2 separate regions of the Homo sapiens genome follow, and region 1 is linked to region 2. Evidence: promoter capture Hi-C in human tissues and cell types (Jung and others, 2019). All regions are on one chromosome and are shown on one strand. Each heading gives the region's core, a stretch centred on a gene start or on the middle of the fragment in contact. The rest is flanking DNA. Distances are from core to core; before and after follow the strand shown.

Region 1 (7,474 bases), core at 2,877-5,376, 37 kb before region 2:
ATTGTACTTGTAAGCCATACATGTATACAAATAAATAATGTGTGAAATCAAGCAGTCTCCCTGTCCTCCCACCCCCTACTCCTGGTCCCCTTCACTGATCCTCAGAGCATGAAAAGAATATGGTTCCGACTTCATTTCTTTCCTCCTTTTGAATCTCATGCCAAATGTTTCCCGCAGTCCACAGTGAACCAAACTATGCAAAAAATAAAATTGTGGGAAATGGGGCTCCACCTTGACTAAATTAACCCAAATCCATGAGCAATTCCACCTCTAACCATTTATCATCAGGAGGCTGAGCATGAGTACATAACCAGTCACATTCAAAGATGTCTATTGCAACATTGTTTGTTATTGGAAAAAATTAGGGAAATAAGTGAATAATCTGCAGCCTTTAATAAGAAGAGATACTTGCAATTAACAAGTTACAGTGACATCCGTAATTGTAAAGTAGAATGGCAAGTTGCAGAAGATGATATAAAATATGATACAATTTTTGTTGAAATACAAAAAGTAAATAAATGTTTGATGAGTATAAAAAGTTTCATACGAAACTAATAGGAGTTACTTCTGGGCGAGAAGATTGGGAAACAGAGGTAAAAGAAAGGAGCCACTCTCCCTTTTTTACTTTGCATGTATCCTTTCATTTTATTGTAACAAAAATGTGTTATTTTTGTAATAACCCCAATTAAGTCTTTAAAAGAAAGAGACTACCTAAAAATATAAATCATGGGAATTGATAAAATGCTAACAAAAATATGTGAGAATCCTAGGCTGTGCACTCAATGTATTTAACCAGATCCCATCTATTGCAATAAAAAAAGTTAGTAGCAATCATCATTATCATCGTTATATGGTTAGTCCAAGGAGACTTTTTGGTGACCCACCGTCTCTGCCTCTTTCCTGCAAGCTGAAAGACATCGGAGAAGAAATTTGTAAATGTAGAGAAACCTGGGTAGCAGTTTATCATTTTCCTGTGCTGAATAAACAGCAGAATTCCTTTGTTCAATCTGATAACTTTTGAAGGTACATAATTTTGTAAATGTCAAATCCTCAGATGAAGGAATTTCCCAAAAGATATGCTCACTGAGGTACTTGGGAGCGGGAAATGTCTTTAAAGTATTACTCAATCCAGTGCCTGGGGTCAAAGAACATATTTTAATCCCTCCTTGGCACTGCTAACGATACCTGGCCCCTTCAGTCAATAAATACTCATTTACTGTCCAACGAGTGTCAGATAGTGGACTGGAAGTGCAGGAAACAGCAGGGAGCAAGTTTCACATGGATCCTGCCCTATTGAAACCTTTAAGGCCCATTGGGGAAAACAGACATCAAACAAGTAACAATAAGTGGTTTGTGCGCTTCCAAAAAACAGCAGAGAGGGTACTGCAGGAGCAAACAATTAGCCAACTTAGTCTATTTGGGGAATCAGAGAACAGCTCAGTAAATGTCTACAGAATTTATTAGAGGGCTCTGAATGTGGGAGAGACTGTTGCCTAAACAGTCCCTTCACAAAAGGGATCAAGGAGTCATGAAGCCACAGGAGGTAATATTAAATGATCAGGGACAGTTTTAAATAGAACTTCTGGAAGAAACACAATTTATCTTTCACTCTGTAGGCATTAAGCGTGTGTTAGATGCCAGGAACCATGATGTATGTGTCTAACCTGCAGGAGTACATTCACTCACTTGTCATTTAGTCCACAAATATTCACTGGGCACTTATTATCTTCCAGGGACTGCTTTAGGCATGGGGGCACAGGGGAGAACCCTGCTCCTATGAGCTTGCATTCTTGTGGAGTGACAGAAAATAACACAAAAGGAAAACATATATTATATCAGATAGTGGTGTGCTATGCAGAAAAATACAGCAGAAAAGAAAGTTAAGGAGGTTGCTATTTTCAATAGGGTTATCAGAGAAAGCCTCATTAAAAGGTAATAAGTGAGCAAAGATTTGAAGGAATCAAGAGAGAAGAGAGCAAGTTATACAGACATCTGGAGGGATAGCATGCTAGCAGAGGGAACAGCAAATGCAAGGGCTCTGAGGCGAGACCATGCCTGGTGTGTTCAAAGGACAGTAAGGAGTTCAGAGTCTAGCAGAAAAAACAAGCATGCGACCAAGGAACTATTTTATAATTCAATTTGACAAGTGACGATGCAAGAATTTTTTGCTCATTAATTAAGAGCAGCCATGGCAAAATTCTAGTGTTGGACTACCGAGAGAATGTTTGATATTGCTGAAAGCACCTGGGCAGCAAGGTCAATGTGAAACAGTCACTGTGCACATGACAAGTAAAGAAGGTTTGCTTTGGCAGCATTGGGATGGGTGTGGACCAGGTGAACCTGATCAGTTTCCTCACCTGAAACCCATCTCACCTTTCCCTGAAGAATCTCTTTACCTCCTTGTTCATTGTTCTCTGTCTGCTCATGACCCCTGCTCTTTCACTGATTGTAATCTTAAGGTGAGGATATAGAAAAAGAGCACCGCATGGGCAACCAGACACGTGGTTCTTCATTCCCACCGCCTGCCCCATCCCCACCACCATCCTTGACTAGCTATGTGGTCCCAGGTAAGTCTCTTATCACTCTGGCCTTCCATATCATCATCCGTTTTTCTTATTAACTCCTCAAAGCAATATGAAATAATCATAATTTGGCCACCTAAAGACAGGAACGTGGAAGGATTTAATTTTATCATTCTCTTCTCCTCCTCTTTCCCTTCCCATAAATCCCTACATGCGCATCCCCCCAACCCCTGCAAGCCGAGACAAGGTGGGGGAATATCCTCTGTCTGCAGGCTCCGGCTCCAGCGTAAGACTCTACTAGTTTGTTTTGCCCCAACACTGTCATAGCCAATCCGTGGCCAGTGTGGGTCTCCAAGGAGAGATTACTGCTGATATTGGGATTATTTATATGCAAATAGCCCCTTTCATGTAGGAAAAGAGAAGGTTTCTCTTCAATCTCCATTTCTAAAAGCTGTACACCCAGTTGGGCCATCGCTAAGAATGGTTAAGGGAGCCTGAATTCTAGTTCTGACTTGTCCCATGAGGAATCATTTATCTTCCAAGGTCCAGTTTCCTCAGTCAGAATAATGTCATGAATCACAGGCTCTGCCACCCTCGCCAGCTGTGTCCTGGGAGAACGGCCCCCTGCCCAGCTATTTACCTAGAATAGGTAGAATGGAAACTGATCCACCTAGGAAAAGGCAAGGCCCATTGTAGCCTCTAGTTTGCCCTCCCTGGAATCAGGCACTTCATCAAGTTTGTCCTTTAATCTTTAACACAAAGAAAACCTTAGGGAAAAATAACTAGGACAAGTGCACTGCCCAGAGAAGCAACTGGCACAGACAGCAAGTTGGCATGACCTTTACCAGCTCTCTGCAGCTGAGAAATTGTGGTAATTATTCTTAGCATCTGCACATGCATTTTTTATGAGTCTCAAAATGTCCAGACAAGAAAAAGGAAGAGAGCAAGGTCAGGAGGAAACTCCTTTGACAAAGGTGGAGCCAGGAAGGGGACAGGTGGGGACCATCTGCACATTCAATCATTTCTCATTTTTGATTAAGAAAGGTGGTCTAGAGACCAGGGCTGAAATTTATACACACACAGATACACACACATATTTCCTGCCTTCAAAAATTTTATACTTTACTGTTAGAGGTAAGCCATATATGTAATCAATCATTCCCATACCAGGATAAAATTCAGGGGAGATGATTTCCAAGGAAGTGGCATTTGAGCTGAACCTTAAAATTAAAATTTGAGCAAGATACTTAAAATTGCACATTCCCTATTCTTCTGACCCTGGCTTCATTTTCACCATAGGAATTGTCACCTTCTAACATAACATATGATGTACTTATTGTATTTATTGCCTATCTGATTCACCCCTCTGTAAATTCCAAACAAAGCTTCTCTCTCACTTTCTTTCCACCCCATCTTTCTTACTAGAGAAAGAGACAAAGAAAGAAAACTTGCTAAGCTCTTATATTTACAGGATACCTTTGACCTTTCAGAACAATGTCCCTTCCATTTTGTCCTCAGAAGAGCTCTGCGAAGATCCGAGAATATGTGATTCTCCCCATTCTGCTGAAACAGTAACAAAGACATGGGGTAGGAGGGATGAAGGTTACCCAAGGTCACTCACCTGACACCCACCAACTTTACAGAGATGTCATTAGTCTCTCACCTGGCATATAGGAAGCACTCAAAATATATGAATTATTATTTCATTTTTCTTATGTCACATTTTTTCAGAAAGAAGGTATTAAATAACCTTCTTAGTATTACCAGCTGGTACTGTAGTGAACATTGTTCTCACTCCTCTGCCTTTGCTGCTCTTTACAGCGTCAGAAAATAAAATCACCCTTCCCTTAGTGCCCTACCTTTTCCAAAGACCCAGAAAGGTTTTCTTCCAACTACCATAGCGTGGCATAGACAGCTTCACCAATACAAGGCTCCCTCCTATTCCTCGCTCTGAAACAATTTTAGCAGCATGGATTCATTAACCACAACCTTGCTACTGTTGCAAGTTAGAAAGCCTGAGTTTCAACACTGTGAAAACCCATTATTAGAGCGAGTCTCCTTCCATGTATGATTACAGATAATACATTCAAACAAAACGTAACATTTCCAAAAGATGAAAGGTGATTTTCTCAGAGAAGTTAGGACATTTTTACTTATAATGACTTCTTGTTACTCGTAATGAATGACAATAATGGTATGTTAGCATGTTACACAGTTACAAAGAAGGTGAGTGTAACTGTTAGGAACCTTCTTCAAGAACTCCTTTGTTTTCTTGTTTCTCTAAAATATAAATCAAAAGGTTCCACACAGGAATGGCATGAGTAAGCTATTTAGCCACCTTAACCAAGTCAGTGTGATCAGTATCCAGTTGCCAATTAGCACCTACGTGGAGCTCTATACATGCTTTAAGGAGGCGAGGAAAGCTCTGAGCAATGCTATTTTGAGGAACCTTGAGCTTGCTGTTGCTTTCTGGAGAAACAAGGAGGTTCTGATTAATTGGATATAACAGTTTGGACTCTCTAGTTTCAAGTAACAAAAATCAACCAGAGGGCCGGGTGCGGTGGCTCACGCCTGTAATCCCAGCACTTTGGGAGACCCAGGTGGGAGGATCACCTGAGGCCGGGAGTTCGAGACCAGCCTGGCTAACAGAGCGAAACCCCATCTCTACTAAAAATACAAAAATTAGCCAGGCACCTGTACTCCTAGCTACTTGGGAGGCTGATGCAGGAGAATCGCTTAAGCCCAGAAGGCAGAGGTTGCAGTGAGCCTAGACAGTGCCATTGCACTCCAGCCTGGGTGACAGAGTAAGGCTCTGTCTAAAAAAAAAAAAACAGAATAAGCCTGAGCAAAACAAAAACAAAAGGAAATTTATTATAAGGATATGTGTATCCAGAAGCCAAGCCACGATTACAGCTGGGCTGAAGATTTCCCACTGGAAATCCCGTGAGAATTCAGGCAGTATTTTCTGTCCATCTATTACGCCATTGCCTCATTCTTCTCTCTCTCTCTGTCTCTTTCTGTCACTGAAGATCAGAGCCTTCTACCTACTCTGCCTTGTAGAACATTTAAGCCCACAGTTCCCAAGTTTAAATGTTTTTGGTTCAGTCACATATATAACTCTTTTCTTTTTTTTTTTTTTTTATACTTTACGTTCTAGGGTACATGTGCACAACATGCAGGTTTGTTACATAGGTATACATGTGCCATGTTGGTTTGCTGCACCATCAACTCGTCATTTACAGTAGGTATTCCTCCTAATGCTATCCCTCCCCCAGCCCCCGACCCCAGACAGGCCCCCAGTGTGTGATGTTCCCCGCCCTGTGTCCCCTATTCAACATAGAGTTGGAAGTTCTGGCCAGGGCAATCAGGCAAGAGAAAGAAATAAAGGGTATTCAATTAGAACTCTTAACTCTCTCCATTCACTTCCAAGTTCCCAGGAGATTACTCTAGTTGGCTTGATTAAGTTAAGTGAAATCTCTTGTTCGGTCTACTTGTGACCATGAAGTCGCTGTCATATATTACAAAATGGTTGTTGAGGATTTCATTATTGTAGACTATGGTGGGCGTGAACTTGCTACATTTCAGTGATACCAAGAAGGCCAGTGTGGATAAAGCAGAGAGTGCTAGGGAAAGCTATCTCAAACTTCACATATTCAAAGAAGAACTCGTGTTTTCACTTTAAAAATATATATATCAGGCTGGACAATGTAGCAAGACCCCATCTCTACCAAAAACAAGAAATCTTTTTTTGAAATTAGCCAGGCATGGTGGCACATGACTATGGTCCTAGCAATTTGGGAGGCTGAGACAAGAGAATGGCTTGAGCCCAGGAGTTTGAGGTTACAGTGAGCTATGATCATGCCACTGTACTCCAGCCTGGGTGACAGAGCAAGACTCTACCTCTAACAACAACAACAACAACAACAACAACAACAACAACAAATATTCTACTCATTCAGATCAAAATTCTTGGAATCATCTTAGACTTACTTTTTCCTCCTATAGCCCACATTCAATCTGTAGTTATCTATCACTTCGTAATAAATTATCTCAAATCTTAGTGGCTTAAAATTGCAAAAATCATTTATTATCACTCATGGGTTCTCAGATCCAGGATTTCAGTTAGGACATGTCAAGGCCTCAACTGAAATATCCAAGGATTGAAAGTTGAATTAACTGAAGGATCATTTAATCACATGTCTAAAAGTTGGTGCTGCCTACAGCTGAGGGGCTAGCAGAGCTGTTGACCATAACACTCCACACATGGCCTCTTCATGTAGTCTAGGCTTCCTCACAAAATGGTGGCTGAGTTCTACAAGCAAACATTCCAAGTGAAAGTGAGAGCCAGGCAGAAGCCATGTTGCCTTTCATGGCCCAGCCTCAGCAGTCACAGAGCATCATTTCTGCAACATTTTACTGGTTGAACTAGTTATTAAGATCTGCTCAGTTTCAAGAGAAAAGATCATAGACCCCATCTCTTGACGGAGGCATCTATCAATATCTTATTGCAGGAAGAGAACATTGGATGGGATGTAATTTGGTATGAGTATCTTTTAAAAATTAAGTGGGCTACACTATGCATCTGTAAATCCTTTCAAATCTATCTCCAGAAAATATTTTGAACCTGACCTCCATCTTCACTGCTATCATTCTAGACCAGATGACTATCAAATTGTTTTAGACTGTGGCAATTACTTTCAAACTTGTCTGTCTGTTATACTTTCAAATTCTCTTTTGTCAATTCTTCACACAAAGCCAAAATATTCTTTCCCTGTGCTGCCAATGTCCTTTTGAATAAAATTCAAAGTCCCTGAATTGGACTTCATGAATTGACTCATGGTTGGCTGCCTGCAGGAAGAGTGAGATCTGTTAAAGCTTTCTCAATCCCTCCAAGCTACCATCAATCTAATGACTGTTTTTTTTTTTAACTTCTGTAATTCTGTAAGCTGATG
Region 2 (7,568 bases), core at 714-3,213:
GCCCATGGCATAATTCACATTCCAGAGTTACTCTAAGAATCAGGCCAAAGCTAGCCTCCAGCTGAAACTACATCCTACATCTTTGCTTAGCTATTTCCTGTTTCATTCACTCCCTTACAGGTTTCTCCTTCAAGCACTCCCTCAGTGAGGCACTTGCCCAAAATTCTGTCCCGGGTCTTTTTTTAAGGAAGCTAACCTAAGATGCATCTCTTCCCAAAAGTCCAAACAGAAGTTCTGGAGTGAGGCCGGGCACGGTGGCTCATGCCTGTAATCCCAGCACTTCTGGAGGCCGAGGCGGGCAGATCACTCGAGGTCAGGAATTCAAGACCAGCCTGGCCAACATGGTGAAACTCCGTCTCTACTAAAACTACAAAAATAAGCTGGGCGTGGTGGCACATGCCTGTAGTCCTAGCTACTAGGGAGGCAGAGGTGAGAGAATCGCTTGAACCCGGGAAGTGGAGTTGCAGTGAGCCAAGATCATGCCATTGCACTCCAGCCTGGGCGACAGAGCAAGACTCTGGTGAAATGCTTAACAATAACAATAACAATATTAAAGATAACAATAGTAATGATTATGTTATACATCAAAGCACTCTAGATCCCCCAATGTGTCAAAAGGAAGGAAGGTAATATCTACTGTATAGTCACCCCATTCTACAAGTTCCCCAGGGGATGTTGAATGGAATATTCTTATTACTGGCATATTCCTTCACCCTGTCCCAATTACCACTCTACCTTCTATACCATTCCAGGAAGTATTAGAATACACTACATATACTCTTACCACACAGTTATTTCAATAGATATTTAATTATAGGAAATAATAAATATTGTCCAAAAATGTATTGGAAGGTAGAATTTCTTGTGCTAACTGCCAGGAGTCCTGATCTGTGGCTGCCACCCTTCTTTGTAATATATTCTTGTATCAACTGGCATCTGGCATCTGCAATTATGAAAACCACCCTAGTTCGCCTGAATGCTTGCTAATTTTCAAAGGTTTTTTATCCCAGCCATGTTACTTAGAAGCAAACAGAGCACATGGCCTCTTTGAGATTTCTTCTGCTGGAAAAGTTCTGATCCTACAATAAAAAGCTGATGAAAGCTTATAGGACACAGAGAGGTTCTACTGAATCAGGAACCAAGTTATTAGTAGGAAGAAAGATAGGTTCTCCAGGAACCCACAATCCAGCAGAGGAGATGAGACTATTCACTAAAGAATAACTATGAACACTGTAAGACAAGTGGAGTTCAGTGCCAAATTATGTGGTTCTAACAAAGAGATCATGGGTTTCAGAGACGAGGGAAGAGACAAGAGCTGGAGTGGTTAGAGAGTTGACCATGGAAACCCTGGAAATAGATCTTTAAGGAAGGTGAGCTGACAAGCTCCTCAGTATAGACATGAATGAAGTATGTTTAGACCACACCAGACTCATACCTTCCTGAGCCAATAATCACTCTTCCTTGAAATTCTGAGCAGACAATGCAGCCAGGTTTCAGCCCCTGATATGGGACTTGACATCAGGACTAAGGATGAGTGTGTTGTAAAGAGAACTTTACCAGGAGTCCTAAGATCTGAGTTCCAGTCCTGATATTACCACTGAGTAACTTTGGGAATGGTGAGCCAGTGGCAAAGAAAAACCAAGTTCATTCCCAGCAGAGTCTGCAGTTGAGCTTTGAGACAAACAAGGCTTACGAGTTTTCATGAGCTCCCATAAGATTTGTTTTTATTCTCTCAGAAGTGTGCAGAAGCTGAGATAATGAGCCTCTGCTGAAGTGTGGTCTCCCTGACCGGGCCGGCTATTCTCTGGAGTCCCAGGGGCTGTCCCAGGTCCTGATTCATGATTCAAGGAAAACCACTGAGATCACTGCATCCCTCCCATAAAACTATCCCCAAAGGCAATTTAAATATCCCACTGGTTTGCTTAGTAAGAAGAAAACCTAAAGTCAGTCAGCTACATACGTCTATTTGAGCAATCTTAGCTGCTTTCTACAAAATGCTTAAACAACCTTAGCTTAGCTTGACTACAAGGCCAAGATAAATCCAACTGAATTATTCCACCAGGTAATTAAGACTTAATTATTACCTTGGCTCTGAAGTAAGGTCCACACAAACTAGAGAAGGTGTAACTGGGCAGAGAATCTTGCCTTTGTCATCAGAAGTTGTCATCTGATAGGACCATGACCAGACTGGGATTTCAGCTCTTATGTGAAATATACAAGTAAGACTGGATCAGCTTTTTTTTGGGGGGGGGGCGGTGGGTAAGGGGGGAATCTACAGCTTTAATCTCTTTGGGCTTTTGTGTCACTAAGTAGATTTCAGAAAATATAAATAGTTTCATGTGGGAGGCGTGGTACTAGACTGCAGAGCTTAGACAAGATATTTTCCTGTAAATGACTCTACTTTCTGTAATTATGCTGGAGTAGAATTAGTCATATGTACTAGGACTCTGGCTTTGGAATAAGACAGACCTGGATTAGACTCCAGGCTTTTTCATTGACTAGTCATGTGACCTTGGACAAGGTACTTAACTATTCCGAGTCCTAGTCTCTTCCAGGACAAAATAATACCTTTTTTGTAGGATCATTGTATGAATTATATGAACTAATGTGTCTACAATGCATAGTATTGTGATCAGCGCAGAGAAGATGTTCGATAAATGGTTGCCAGGATTAGGAAAAGCAGCACAGCGTGTTGATTCAACACTCCAACTCTGGGGTCAGAGAACCAGGGTTAGAATTTAAACATATTTTCTTTCTAGCTGTGAAACCTCAAGCAAAACATCTAATGTCTCTAAACCTTCATTTCCTCATCTGTAAAATAAAATATTTCTCTCTCATTATGTTATTGTCAAGTTGAAAGGAAATAAAAGCCTTTAAAGTGCTTAGCATCTACCTGACTTGGAGCAAGAGCTCAGCAAATGTTAACAACAATATTTCAAGACACTGATTTCAGTAAGGTGAGAAACATTAACTTTGTTGAGCTCCTTCACCCTCCCCAAGGGACTCAATCTTTGGAGGAAAATGAAGAAGAGTATGGAGAACATCCCAAGTTAAAGTAAGTACAAGTGTTAGGGACCATCTCTTCTGTAAAGGGTTCCTCCTGAATTAGAGGAGTCTTTTTCCCTATCCCCTCCAGAGGTCACATATTCTTTTATGTCACATATTATAATTTAAATATATCACAAGTAATAATATCAACCTATAAATGTTCCTAGGCTTTCTTAAAAGAGTCACTGGCCATAAACCGTTGCTTTCCCTTTCATAAACTGTCCTGGGTTCGGGGAGTTGGTTGTTTCTCTCTACTCTTGGCCTCACCCAAGCTGATGGTACCCCAATCTCCTTCTTAAACAAGATCACACAAAACTGGGTGTCACCAGTCTGCTCCTAAAATTTTTCCCTCTGGGAAATATTTTGGAAATTGCCTGTCTGAAAAATAAGCAAGCTCTACCATATTAGATAAACATCCATTCTATTTCAAGAATCGTTACTATATTCTCATTTTATTATTGAAAAAATTGAGGTTCCAATTGGTTGAGCAGTTTTCCAAGGGTATATCAAGAGGGATATGGTCCAACTAAGTCTCTCTCAAGTTATAAAGAAAGAAAAAGAAGAAAAAACATGGACCACAAAGAACTCCAACATCAATCTTTATACTTGATGCCCACAGAAGTTGAGTATTTGCCTAATGGTTTTAGAGAGGCGCTTTGATTTTAAAGGTTTGGGGCTTGGATCTGCATAAAGGGTCTTTCTCATGCCCTAAAAAGAGAACATGATAAGATGGAAAGAATACAGAATTTGGAATTAGAATGTCCTAGGTTCAAATGTCTGTTCTGTTCCTTCCTAGGTGTATAATAAGTTGGACAACCTTCTTAACTTCTCTGAACTCTGCTTTGTTCATCCATAAAATAGTCATAGCTATACCCAACTTGGAGGGCTTCAGGAAGGACTAGAGCTAATGTATGAAACAGGCCTTGCATGCATGTGCCACAAACTCAGTGTGATTGCATCTGCACCCCAACAATCTGCCACCTAATCTCTGGTCAGGAGCCTTGAACAATTGTGTCTCTAATCAGAGAGACCCCCAGGAATTAGCCATGAGATAGATGTAATATGACCTACAACAATTTCAGAAGTAGATACTGAGAAAGGTGTTGAAATTAACCAAGTTATCTCATGATTTGAAGGTAAAAAAGCTCTGATTAACTGCAGGGAGATTTCTTTGTTTCCATAGATTATAAAGATATAGGAAAATGGAGGGAGACAACAAAACAAATTTATAGCTGAAAGCAGAGGATTTGCCATCAACTAACTCTTCTGCTTCTACTTTCACTTGGAGGTAATTTTAGACAAATTAATCTCCCAAAGATTTAAATTCCTCATTGGTAAAAATAAGGTCATAATATCTGCTTAAAGGGCTGCTTTCAGAATTAAATAATATATGCAAAGCACTCACAGTCTCTAGTAGAATTGATAAGTAAAATATGTTATAAGCATACCAAGCAAGACCATAACAAAATCCGAAAAAAAAAACAAAATTTACCACAATTACATAAACAAATCACAAAAATACGGTGTATGCTAAAAAATGAGATTTATGTCACAATATCATGTACACAAATTTTAAAACACACCACAGCCACTATATTTTAATATACATATATTTCTAAATAAATATGAAAAGAATAAACATAGAAGGATATGTATTTTGAATACACTGGAGTGCACACTTAAGAGGAACAGGGGAAGGAGTAAGAATGAGGCAGGACTAACAAAAATAATAAAATAAAATAAAATGAAGAAGAGCCTTGCCCTGACCAATGATGATGGTTTATCAGGAACTGAGGAGTAAAGGCCATTCAATTTTCTACCTAAGGCCCCAAAATATTATGTTTAAGTAACTATAAATCACTTGAAATAGTGCCTGCATTGCTTTATATACTCAGTATTTAGTAGATACAGAGCCTAAATACCTAGACATATAAATCATGGATTGTGAGAAACAAAAGATTCAGTGGTCATATAACCTAGCTCTGCCATTTCATAGAATAGAAAGCGAAGTCCATGTTGAAGGGAAAATAAACGTTTGAAGTTTACTCAGCTAGTGAGTGCCTGTCATAGAGGTGACAACCACAGAGCTTGAACCATACCATGAAGGCCTTCCAAAGAAGCTGACTCGTCCCCAGACCCTGCTGCTGGAGCAAGGTGGATGGAATAGCCCTGGGACATGTTTGACGTGATCTGTCAATGTCTCTCTCCCACTAGGACCCTGATTAGAGCTGAAGTAAGCTCCAGACCCAAGAACAGCTACCATGAGCCCTTTCATGAAAGTGTGTGCTGCTTGTCTCTCTCTACCCATGTAGTGAATAAAGCAGTCACAATGATTCTAGAGATGGGGCCTCATCACAAGTTCAAAACCTCTTCCTGGCAGGTCCCAGTGGAATTAGACCTTAGGTGAAAGAGAAGTAAAAAAAGGGATCCCATGGAAGCCAGAGGACCTGCCTGTTATCCCCAAGTCTGCAAATAGCTAATTATTTGACTTTTGGACAAGTCATTAACCTCTGTCAGTTGTCTCAATGCCAAAATAATGACAATATCAATCAAGTCAACTTTACAGGGGTGTGGAGGCAATCACAGACATTTATGGATATAAAATGTATGAAAGAAGGTAGAAAGAGGTATTATGATGAGTTTTTACTACTATGGATTTTATCAAAAATAGCAATCCCCATGTTGCCACAGCAAAGAAAATTCCCAGTTGTGCTACAAGGAAAAGAGTTTCTTAACAATCTAATTTCTATATTCATGGCTTCATCAAACATAGTTCTAGATTCAAGGACTCTGAATTGGCAGATTCCAACCTGAGGAAGTTGGGGGTGTAAGATTAAGGAGGCCAGGCAAATGGTTCAAGGGGAGCAGTGTAGGATAATGGAATCTGGAGACTTGGTTGTGGATCCTGGCTCCTCTACATGTGGGTCAACGGATGGTTTCATTTCTCCAATCTCCACTTCTCAAACACAAACAAACTAATGTCACCTGTCCAGTAGGATTGTTGCCAGGTTTCTGGCAGGTCCTGGGAGAGTAGAGATGACTTTGGGAAAAAAAAGAGATGGGAACCTAGGCTTCCATGCACACTCTCCCAAGGAAGGCTTTAGGCATTTTAATGAGTATCCTGGATGGACTTGGAACATGGTATTATGCAGTATTACGAGGTGACTCAAATCTGTACCATATGGCAACAGGAAATCTTAGGAAATGCAAAATTTCCATGACTCAAATATAAAGCAAACTAAACATAATTATTTTAACCAATTTGTTAGATCAAAAGAAAGGAGCATTTATTTGACTTGATGTTTGAAAGATTCTCCCAGAAGCAGAAGTTTAATGACATTTCCTTTTCTGTGTATCCAATCACAATATTTAGTCTTTTTGTGTATGGCATGTACATAGTCATAATAGAGAAACACAAATTACTGATAGTAGAATCAACCCGTAGTCAAAATATAGAGAAGACTTAAATTAGCAAGCATTCCCATATGAATGGGATAAAAGACTGATTTTTTTGTTAAGGGGGTGGAAGGGAGAAGAGAGAAAAGAACAAGGGAATAATTTCTTCATCTTACTTAGTGAAGGTCAAATTTACTCAGTCAAAAAACAAGAATATATGTATATATATATATATATATATATATGGTATTGAAATAAAGATACAAATATATTACACAAAGATAGCAATATTAACAAAGTTCATGCGGGTTAAATGGATTATGTTTCAGTACAGAAAATCAATAGCTACCAACTAAAATTGATGATAATAGCAACAACAAAAGTAGCCAACATTATTTAGCTTTATGTGCTGGGTACTGATCTACACTTCTTACAGGTATTAACTTATTAATACTTAAAAGGCTACAAATTGAGTTCAGTGTATACTGCTCGGGTGATGGATATACCAAAAATCTCACAAATCACCACTAAAGAACTCATTCATGAACCAAATATCAACTGTTCCCCAAAAACCTATGAAAATAAAAAATAAAAACATATTCAAATTCAAAAAAAGATAATAAATTTTCTTTTCCTTAAAAAAATTAAAAGACCCCTATGACATAAGCATATTTTTCTATGTTACAAATAGGTGAATATGTTATTTTATGAATGTATGAACTTTGATTTTGGACAATGTATAAACTCTACCCAACTTTGATTTTATGAAAAGTTGAGGCACAAAGGGGTTAGTTAACTTACCCAAGGTCATAAAAAAGTAGCAAGTCCACGAGTTTGAACATATTATTTATAATCATGATGTATAAGTAACTAAAAAATATAAAATGCAATATGTTGAAGATGATGGCCCCTGAGCTGGGGTGGTGATGATTAAAGTAGAAAGAAAGACTTTTTGTTATCAGCTAATACTATTCGACTAGGCAATTTTTTTACTGCCCATTGAATAATTATATAGTAAGACGGAAAATATATCAATGTGTACTATAAGGGAATGGTGGGCAGGAAGAGCAGATTCATCAGTTCCAACTTGTGAAAGGCTTTCATAAGAAGAAGTGATTAAAATT

What was found. The method cuts DNA at HindIII sites, captures the fragments that hold promoters and counts their contacts. A contact is called where the count stands out against the background at its distance.
Region 1: a fragment that was not itself captured here is called in contact with the fragment with the promoter of OR9I1 in region 2 in 3 of the 25 tissues and cell types used here (neural progenitor cells, ovary and stomach).

Annotation. Positions count from the first base shown.
Region 1 is chr11:58,159,429-58,166,902 of GRCh38, reverse strand. All of the region lies in intron 2 of OR9Q1 (olfactory receptor family 9 subfamily Q member 1), which reads right to left. Among named protein-coding and RNA genes, the nearest start is that of OR9Q2, 26 kb to the left of the region's middle. The HindIII fragment of the contact is 7,939 bases long and covers 157-7,474 here.
Region 2 is chr11:58,119,925-58,127,492 of GRCh38, reverse strand. It overlaps OR9I1 (olfactory receptor family 9 subfamily I member 1), which reads left to right and starts at 1,963. Exons shown (of 3, transcript NM_001005211.2): 1 at 1,963-2,219; 2 at 2,854-3,055. The region is part of intron 2 of OR9Q1 (olfactory receptor family 9 subfamily Q member 1); the gene reads right to left. The HindIII fragment of the contact is 9,927 bases long and covers 143-7,568 here.